2 separate regions of the Homo sapiens genome follow, and region 2 is linked to region 1. The links are contacts of gene promoters, found by promoter capture Hi-C in human tissues and cell types (Jung and others, 2019). All regions are on one chromosome and are shown on one strand. Each heading gives the region's core, a stretch centred on a gene start or on the middle of the fragment in contact. The rest is flanking DNA. Distances are from core to core; before and after follow the strand shown. Region 1 holds the start of ANGPT4 (angiopoietin 4). Region 2 overlaps RSPO4 (R-spondin 4).

Evidence for each region. The method cuts DNA at HindIII sites, captures the fragments that hold promoters and counts their contacts. A contact is called where the count stands out against the background at its distance.
Region 2: a contact is called between a fragment that was not itself captured here and the fragment with the promoter of ANGPT4 in region 1, in 1 of the 25 tissues and cell types used here (lymphoblastoid cells).

The regions. Positions count from the first base shown.
Region 1 is chr20:914,754-918,993 of GRCh38, reverse strand. ANGPT4 (angiopoietin 4) reads left to right here and starts at 2,660. Exons shown (of 9, transcript NM_015985.4): 1 at 2,660-3,088. The coding sequence starts at 2,780. It overlaps LOC105372492 (a long non-coding RNA gene), which reads right to left. Exons shown (of 3, transcript XR_937185.3): 2 at 1,573-1,668. The HindIII fragment of the contact is 12,950 bases long and covers 1-4,240 here.
Region 2 is chr20:962,112-966,139 of GRCh38, reverse strand. RSPO4 (R-spondin 4) reads left to right here. Exons shown (of 5, transcript NM_001029871.4): 4 at 2,020-2,205. Among named protein-coding and RNA genes, the nearest start is that of RSPO4, 38 kb to the left of the region's middle. The HindIII fragment of the contact is 9,060 bases long and covers 1-4,028 here.

The sequences.
Region 1 (4,240 bases), core at 1,411-3,910:
GGTGTCTTAGCCCATTCAGGTTGCTATAACAAAATGCACTAAGCTGGGGGGCTTATAAACAACAGAAACTTATTTCTCACAGTTCTGGAGGCTGGGAATTCCAAGATCAAGGCACCAGCCGATCTGGTGTCTGGTGAGAGCTCCCTGCTTCATAGACGGTGCTTTCTTACTGCAACGTCACCTAGCAAAAGGGAAGGCCAGCTGTCTAGGACATGTTTGATAGGAGCGTTAATCTCATTCCCAAGGCAGAGTCCTCACGAGCTATTCACTCCCAAAGGCCCCACCTTCTAATACCATCACCTTGTTGACTAAGTTTCAATAGATCAATTTGGGGGCACACAAACATTCATATCATAGCAGGGAGTAATGATGACAGCTGTCACTGGTTGAGCATGTATTATGTGAAAGGCTCTGTGTTAACCTCACTGCAGGAATCGGTCTTTTAGCCACTGTAACATCACTATTTTGACAGAAGAGGAAACTGAGAGACAGGTTAGGCAACTTGGCAAAAGGCACACAAATAGGGGGTCAGGAAAGCCAAGATTCCGATCCAGATGTGCTGGCTCCAGCATTCTGAGTAGTGAAGAGGTGACAGAGGGGGAAATATCTAAAGGATCATGTTGGAAGAACAGGTCTGATTGGATGGTAAGGTCAGGAGCAGAGTGAGGGATGAGGGAAGCCTCATGTTTCCCAGGCAGGGCCTGCTACCTAATTTGTGGAACTCAATGAAGAATGCAAGTGCTGAGTACTTTGTTCCAAATGTATTAAGAATTTCAAGACAGTGCTGGCAGAGTGTAAACCAAGCATGGGGCCCATCTAAGCTTGGGGCCTGGTGTAACTGCCTCGTTGGGATTATCAAGCAGCTCAGTCAAGACAATCATAATGACGACCACCATTCACACTGCCCTTCTCTGCACCCAGAGCTGTGATAAGCTATCAGTCCACATTACTCTCACATGGTCAGGGTGCTATGACCCCATTTACAGCTGAGGCAACTGGGGCCAAGCGGGGCACGCAGAGCTCAGAGCATGTGGGAAGGCTCAGGGGAGGCTGGAGGCTGATAACCAGCTGCTTTTCCTTTGCCTGCAAAAGCCCCACACCTGGTATAATGTTCTCAGTCCCCAGATGAGACCACAGTTCACAGCTGCCCAGAAGCAGCCTGCCCCAATTCAAAACTCTATCGGGATTTGAGAGAACAAAAAGGAAAATACTAAACAGCCAGACTGGCCCCTACTCTGAGGAAACAAGCAGGGAGAGAGGAAAAGCCCAAACAGCTGGCAGAACATAAAGGCAGCCCATGCAGGAAAGGCCCCACCAACTCCTGGGCACCTTCTGCCTGGAGACCATGTCCCCCAGGGACAAATCCCTGCCCTAGAGGAGTTTATGCTCCAGTGGGTCGTGGGAGGGGAGGTGCAATGACAACTATAACATTGACAACGGAAAATATTTATTTAGTGCTCGCTCTGTGCCAACCTTGCTCTAACTCACCTAATTTTCATGCCATGTGAAGTAGGTGGTATTATTTTCCTCATTCAGGAGGAAATGAAGGCACAGAGAGGTTAAGTGACTTACTCAAAGTCATACAGCTGGTAGATGGTAGAGCCAGGATTTGAACCCAGAAGCTGAAAACTTCTCCATCCCCATGCTGAGGACTCACACGCATTCCTCCTGCAAGAGATAAGGTTTACCCAGTTTACAGATCAGGGTGTGGAGGCCCAGAGAGGCACAGCTGCCCACCCTAGGTCTCGTGGCCAGCTGTCGGGGAGCGAGATCTAGGGTTAGCCTCCTGGCACTCCAACCTCCTCTCCCCACTGCCTCCTCTCCACATCCCCACTCCAGCAGCCCCAGGACAATCTGCCCCAGGACATGACAACTTCTCATTACTGTTACAAGCAACCAAGCCAGGGCCATCCTGGGGCATACCACTTTCCCCTGGCCCTGAGGGAGAAGAGAGGACAGGAAGCAACTCCCAGCTGGGTTGCTCACTTGCCCCACCTTGGAAGGATTTTCTGTGTCTCCAGAGGCAAAGTGGATTCGCTGGGCCCTCCCCAGCCTCACCCCTCTGCCTCCTCCCCTCCCTCTGCTCTCTCCGGGGGTCACTTGTACTCCAAGCGCTAACATGGAACCAGAGGGAGGAAGGTGCAGCGGGGAGAGAAGGGGATGGCAGCGGGACTGAAACTTGAGATCTTAGACTTGGGGGGCAGGGGATGGGGGTGGAGGGAAAGAGGGAGACCAAGACAGAGACAGGAAGGGAGAGTTAAGTTGCATTTGGTTTTCCAAAGCGGGCAGCATTGGAGCTTGGCGTTTGTGTGTACATGAATGTGTGTGCGTGTCAGCGTGCGTGTGAGTGTGTGCTCGTGAGTGTGTGCATGAGTGTGTGCGCGTGTCTGTGTGCTGTTTTCTTCCCTCCCCTCCAGCAGGGAAGCCAGGCCTCACTGGATAATCAGAGGGCTCAGAGGTGAGGCAGACAGAGCAAGGTTGGTGCACGCTTAGGGTAAGGGCGACGTGCCACCAAGACTGAGGAAGGAGGAAGGGAAGGAGTGAAGAATAGAGGTGAGAGGGTGTCGGGTGGGGCCGGAGGGAGGCGGTGAGAGGAAGCAAGCAGAGCAGCCGTGGTATTCAGAGCAAGTATAAATAGCTGCCTGGACAGAGCTCGGCCAGACAGAGGTTTGTAGCTGCAGCTGCAGGCAAGCCTGGCCACTGTTGGCTGCAGCAGGACATCCCAGGCACAGCCCCTAGGGCTCTGAGCAGACATCCCTCGCCATTGACACATCTTCAGATGCTCTCCCAGCTAGCCATGCTGCAGGGCAGCCTCCTCCTTGTGGTTGCCACCATGTCTGTGGCTCAACAGACAAGGCAGGAGGCGGATAGGGGCTGCGAGACACTTGTAGTCCAGCACGGCCACTGTAGCTACACCTTCTTGCTGCCCAAGTCTGAGCCCTGCCCTCCGGGGCCTGAGGTCTCCAGGGACTCCAACACCCTCCAGAGAGAATCACTGGCCAACCCACTGCACCTGGGGAAGTTGCCCACCCAGCAGGTGAAACAGCTGGAGCAGGCACTGCAGAACAACACGCAGTGGCTGAAGAAGGTACGGGGCATGGGAGGTTTGCAGGGGGCAGAGGGCGGCTTTGGGGTCTGTCACAATCAGCAGGTGGAGTGTCCATCCAAGAGGCCTTCCCTGAGCACAGAGGGCTGTCTCTGAGCTGCACAAAGAGGGGCAGGGGTGGGTCTGAGGCCACACAGCAAGATTGGGCAATGTCAGCTGGCAACCTGGCTCTTTAACTGCCGTCCCTTCATTCATCCAACAGAAATCCATTCAGCCCTGACCAAGGGCTGAACGGACCAAGCCTTCCTGGGTGCTGGGGATACGACAGTATAGTATGTCTCCCTCTGGACTAGTAGGGGAAAGAGGCAGTAAGAGATAATCTACTATGTCAGATGGTGAAGCAAAATGAAGAAGAAAGAGGGCAAGTGGCGGCCCTGGGTGGCTGCTTGAGGTCAGATCATTAGAGAGTACTTCTCAGAGGAGGTGACATTTGAACCCAGAGAACAAGGGAAATGATAGAGTGGGCCAGGCAGGTATTTGAGGGAACGTTCTGCAAAGGGAGCTGCATGTATTTTGACCGTGAGGAGGGAATGCATCCGCAGCGGTGTGTGCCTGGAGAACCATGGGGCGAAGGCCTGTGTAGCTGGAGCAGAGGAGAGGGAGCAAGGGTGCGGGGAGGTCTGAGAGGTGACAGCAGGGCAGGCCATGCAGCTGGGGGGGGGGCCACTGGAAGGACTTCAGCTTTTGTTCTGAGTGTCATGGGAGCCACTGCAAGGTTGTGAGCAGAGACAGACACCCGTGATTCGATTTCAACAGCATAGACTGTAGGAGGCAGGGTGGAAGGAAGAAGCCCAAAGAGGTGGCCGCTGCAGCCATCAGGTGCAAGGTACCGGAGGCCTGGAGCAGAACGGGGCTAGGAGGGGGTGTGGCCAGTAAGATTCTGGTGGGTTCTGGAGGTAGAGCCCATCAGCTCTGCTGGTGAATTGGATGCGGAGTGGGAGGAAGCAAGGAGCTGAGGATGCCACTGTGGTTTTGGCCCAAGACCAGGGCTGCTGTAGAATGCCCTGTCATGCTTTCGTCTTTCAGCAGTGTGAGCACCTATTGTGTACCCTCGGAGAAGCACTGACTACAGAGGTGTGCAAAGCAGGCTTGGCCCTGGCGGGGCATGAGGGTACAGGAGACATCCTGGGGGGT
Region 2 (4,028 bases), core at 678-3,177, 48 kb before region 1:
AGCCTCCCTGAGCAGCTGATCCTCACCTCCACTGCCCTCTGGGTGCCTTCTTTCCACTCCCACTGCCACCATCCCCCACCTAACGCTCCCTCTGGGTTTCCTCTGGGTTTCAATAACCAGCTCCCTGATCCCTGGGTGGCATGCGCGAGATGCAGACATCGCTGTTGACTCTTCTCTCTCCCTCACCCTATATTCAATCCAATCTGTTCATTTATTCACTCTGAAAATATCTACTAGAGCATCTGCTATGGCCAGGCACTTTCCTAGGTGCTGGAGACACATTACAGAACAAAACAGACAAAGCCTCTGCACTCAAGGACATGACATTTCAGTGGAGAGACAGAAGCGACACCTGAGAACAAATGCATAATATTTTGGGTGGTAGGAAGAACTTTGGGGTGAAAATGAAGCAGCACGAAGCTCCCAAACCCACACCATTCAGCTCATCCCTTTCTCCCCACCCATTTGTTTCTGTCCTCTGTGCCGCCCTCTTCCCACCCTCTTGCCACCCCCTGCCTATCGCCAGGGTTCTGGCCACAGCTCCTGCCCGTCTCCCGCCTTGGTTCTCAGTCCCTCCAGCCCAGTCTCCACTCAACAGCAGAGGGAGTATTTCACAATGATAGTCTGCTCAATTTCTTTTCCTCCCAGGACCCTTCAGTGGCTCCCACTGCCCTTGGGCGGAGCCCACCCAGGCCCTGGGCAATCTGTCCCATCTGCCAGCCTTTCCACCCCCATCATTTTTTTCCTCCTCAGTTTGAGCTTATTCTCCGGCTTGCCCAGTTCCAGGCCAAATCATCCTGGGGACTCTGCTGGGGTTATGCCCTCACTTGGAGCACCTCCCGTCCCTCCCTGAGCCTGGCTAGGCTCCCCTTCCCCGCCATCCCACCCCCACTTCAAGACCCAGTCCAGGGGTTTCCTCCCCTACAACCCAACCCATGCTGCTTCTGGGCTCCCACGGTGCCTGCACTTCCCTCATCACGGCGGTGTCCAGATGGTGAATTCCAGGAGGCCTGCAGACCCTGGGCTGTCTTGTCTGCTGCTGCTCCCTCAGCACCCAGAATAGCACCTGGCATACACTGGGTGCTCAGTCTTTACTTGTCAAATGTGTGTATCTAGCAAGGTCTGGGTCCCACTGTGTCTTGAGCTTGCTGTGTCTGCTGTGTGAGCCTCTTGCTGCGTTCCCTTAGCAAACCTCTGCTCTAGGTCTCAGTGTCCAAATCTACAAAATAGGAGTATTCATAGCTACCCATATTCTGTGCCTACTTCTCATGGACTTTTAAAATAATCAAAGTATATATATATATATATGTGTGTGTGTGTGTGTGTGTGTGTGTATGTGTGTATATATGTGTATATATATATGTGTGTGTGTGTGTATATATATGTGTATATATATGTGTGTGTGTGTATATATATGTGTATATATATATGTGTGTGTGTGTGTATATATATATATACATGTATATATGTATTTTTATTACCCCCTATGAAGAACTTTTATGTCCATGGCCTCCTTTTTCTTCCTTCCAAAGTTGATCAAAGACACATGATCAAGTTTAAAACCTGTGTCCTGGTCCTGAGGGCTTCCCAGGCAACCTTCCAGCCTCCTCTCCTGTCCCCGCCTTCCTGAGACTTGACTCCCAACTCAGGCTGCCCCATCTCCCAAACATGGTGGGCCGGGCTCCCAAGGCTTTGCACACCTGCCTGGAATGGGCTTCCTTCTTCTCACCTGACGAGCTCCCCTCTCTCCCTTTAACTCATACATCACCTCCTCCAGGAAGCCTTTCCTTTAAAGCTAGACAGTCGGCCGCTCTGGCTTCAGGCCCATATTAGTCTGTGCATGCATTCGTTTCGCTCTCATTCCAGGCTCTTATAAATAACTCTGCTCCTAGCAGGTGGAAGTGGTGTCTTCAGTCTTCAGAGGACTGAACCCCTCAAACCCTGCCCTTGGATCTGAAGGACCCTCACTGCCGGCTGACCCTGTCTGTCTGTCTGTCTGTCTCTCCTTTCACCCCACAGGGGAGTGTGAACTGGGTCCCTGGGGCGGCTGGAGCCCCTGCACACACAATGGAAAGACCTGCGGCTCGGCTTGGGGCCTGGAGAGCCGGGTACGAGAGGCTGGCCGGGCTGGGCATGAGGAGGCAGCCACCTGCCAGGTGCTTTCTGAGTCAAGGAAATGTCCCATCCAGAGGCCCTGCCCAGGAGGTGAGCCCCAGGACAGGCACACGAGGCTGCGGTGGGAAAGGCCCACAGGGACAGGGCGGACTCAGATCACTGCCCCACAAATAGTATCTATGAGACTGCCTGAAAGGCCACCATTAGCCATACTATCATGTGGAGTACACATCACCTTCCCTGGTGTCCTTTCAAAGGAGGGCCTTCCTTGCTGGGTTCAGTCCCAAATACATTAGGAAAATTGAGCTGGCCAGGAGTTCCCAACCCTCTCAAACTGAACACCCCCCTTTTAATAAGAAGGATTTGGGAATACCCTCTTTATCATTCTTAATGAAGTTCATGGAGAATGTGGCCTACTTGCAAAGGTAATTTTTTTTTATCAGTATAGTGTCCTAACTGTAATATAGAGGAGAAAGAAAAGAAATTTCTTGATGGAAGCGCTTGGCCCAACATACCAACAGACACTTAGGGAAGTACAATCCCAGTGAGGACCGCGGCCGTGGTCAGCGCCCCAAGTACGTGGCCACATCGCCATCAGAGATGCGATTTCCCAACAGTGACCAATGATTAGTAAGGTCCAACCCAATTGATCTCTGATTGACACCACACTCACAGTGCCCTAGAATCTTCAGTGAATGGAAGTGTTCGAAACCAATTGGTATTCATGAGTCAAACAGAATTCAGCTCCCAGCAAGCAGACTTTTCAGCTACGTGAGGGTGGGGCACGATGTGAGAGAACTGGATGGAACAGGGGGACAGCTCGTCTTTGCGGGGGACTGTCCCACGCTGGATCCCGATTGCCGTCCACTGAATGCCACAGGAACCCCCTTCACTGTGCCATTCAAGACCACTACACGTATTTCCAAAATGTTTCTGGGGGCTATGAAGGACCACTGATTTACATAGAAGAGAGGCCACAGGGTGTGCTTGGTAAGATGTGAACGGTGAGTAGTATTGGCAGTGTTGACTGGGCACTGTGCCGAATTCTCTATAATCGTTAACTCATGTAATCTTCGCAGTGATGCTATGCGGTAGGTGTTATTAGCACTATCCCCATTTTACAGATGAGGGGACTGAGGCCCAGAAAGGTTGAGTCACTCACCTAAGGGTCACAAAGCCAGGGAGCTGTAGACCTAGAATTCAAACGTAACTCGTCATGCAAAGAGGAATCTAAAGTCATGATGAAGGATGAGGGACCTGGAACCAGGCCACCCGGGGCACCCAGCTGGGACATAGTGGAGCCAGGATTTGAACTCAGGGACACTCCTCTTTCAGAAGGACTTGTGCTATTTGGGTTGGGAGTGCAGCTAGCAGAGATAGGAGCCTTTGGGAGTCATGTTGGGCAGGTGAGGACAGAGTGAGGTTGAGGTGGAACCAGAGAACCTAAGAGACCCCAGAGCCAGAGCAGGACTCACACAGGAGGCAGACAGTTCTTCTGCACTCATTACCACATGGCACCTCTCATGGCTCCAAGAGCTGGGGGTGAATGGCTGTTGGGGAATCATGAGGGGAAAGCTTTTCCCCTGGATAATAATAATCACAATAACTGCAAACATTCATAAAGCATCTACCATGTGCTGGCTGTGCTTAGTGCTGTGAAACATGACTCTAATCCTCGCAACAACCCCGCTGTAGCTCCCTGCATCACCCAGGTCTTGGCTGCAGTGGCTCCTCCTCAGAGAGGCTTCCCAGGAGTCCCCCTCCCCGGAGTCATTTTCCATCATATCACATGGTAGCACTTGCACCCTTCTGAAATGAGCCTTCTCATTCTCGTGTTTGCTTGTTCAGCGTCTGTTTTCCTTACTGGAGTGTGATCTCCAGTGACGGCAAGGGCTTTATCTGCCTTGTTCACA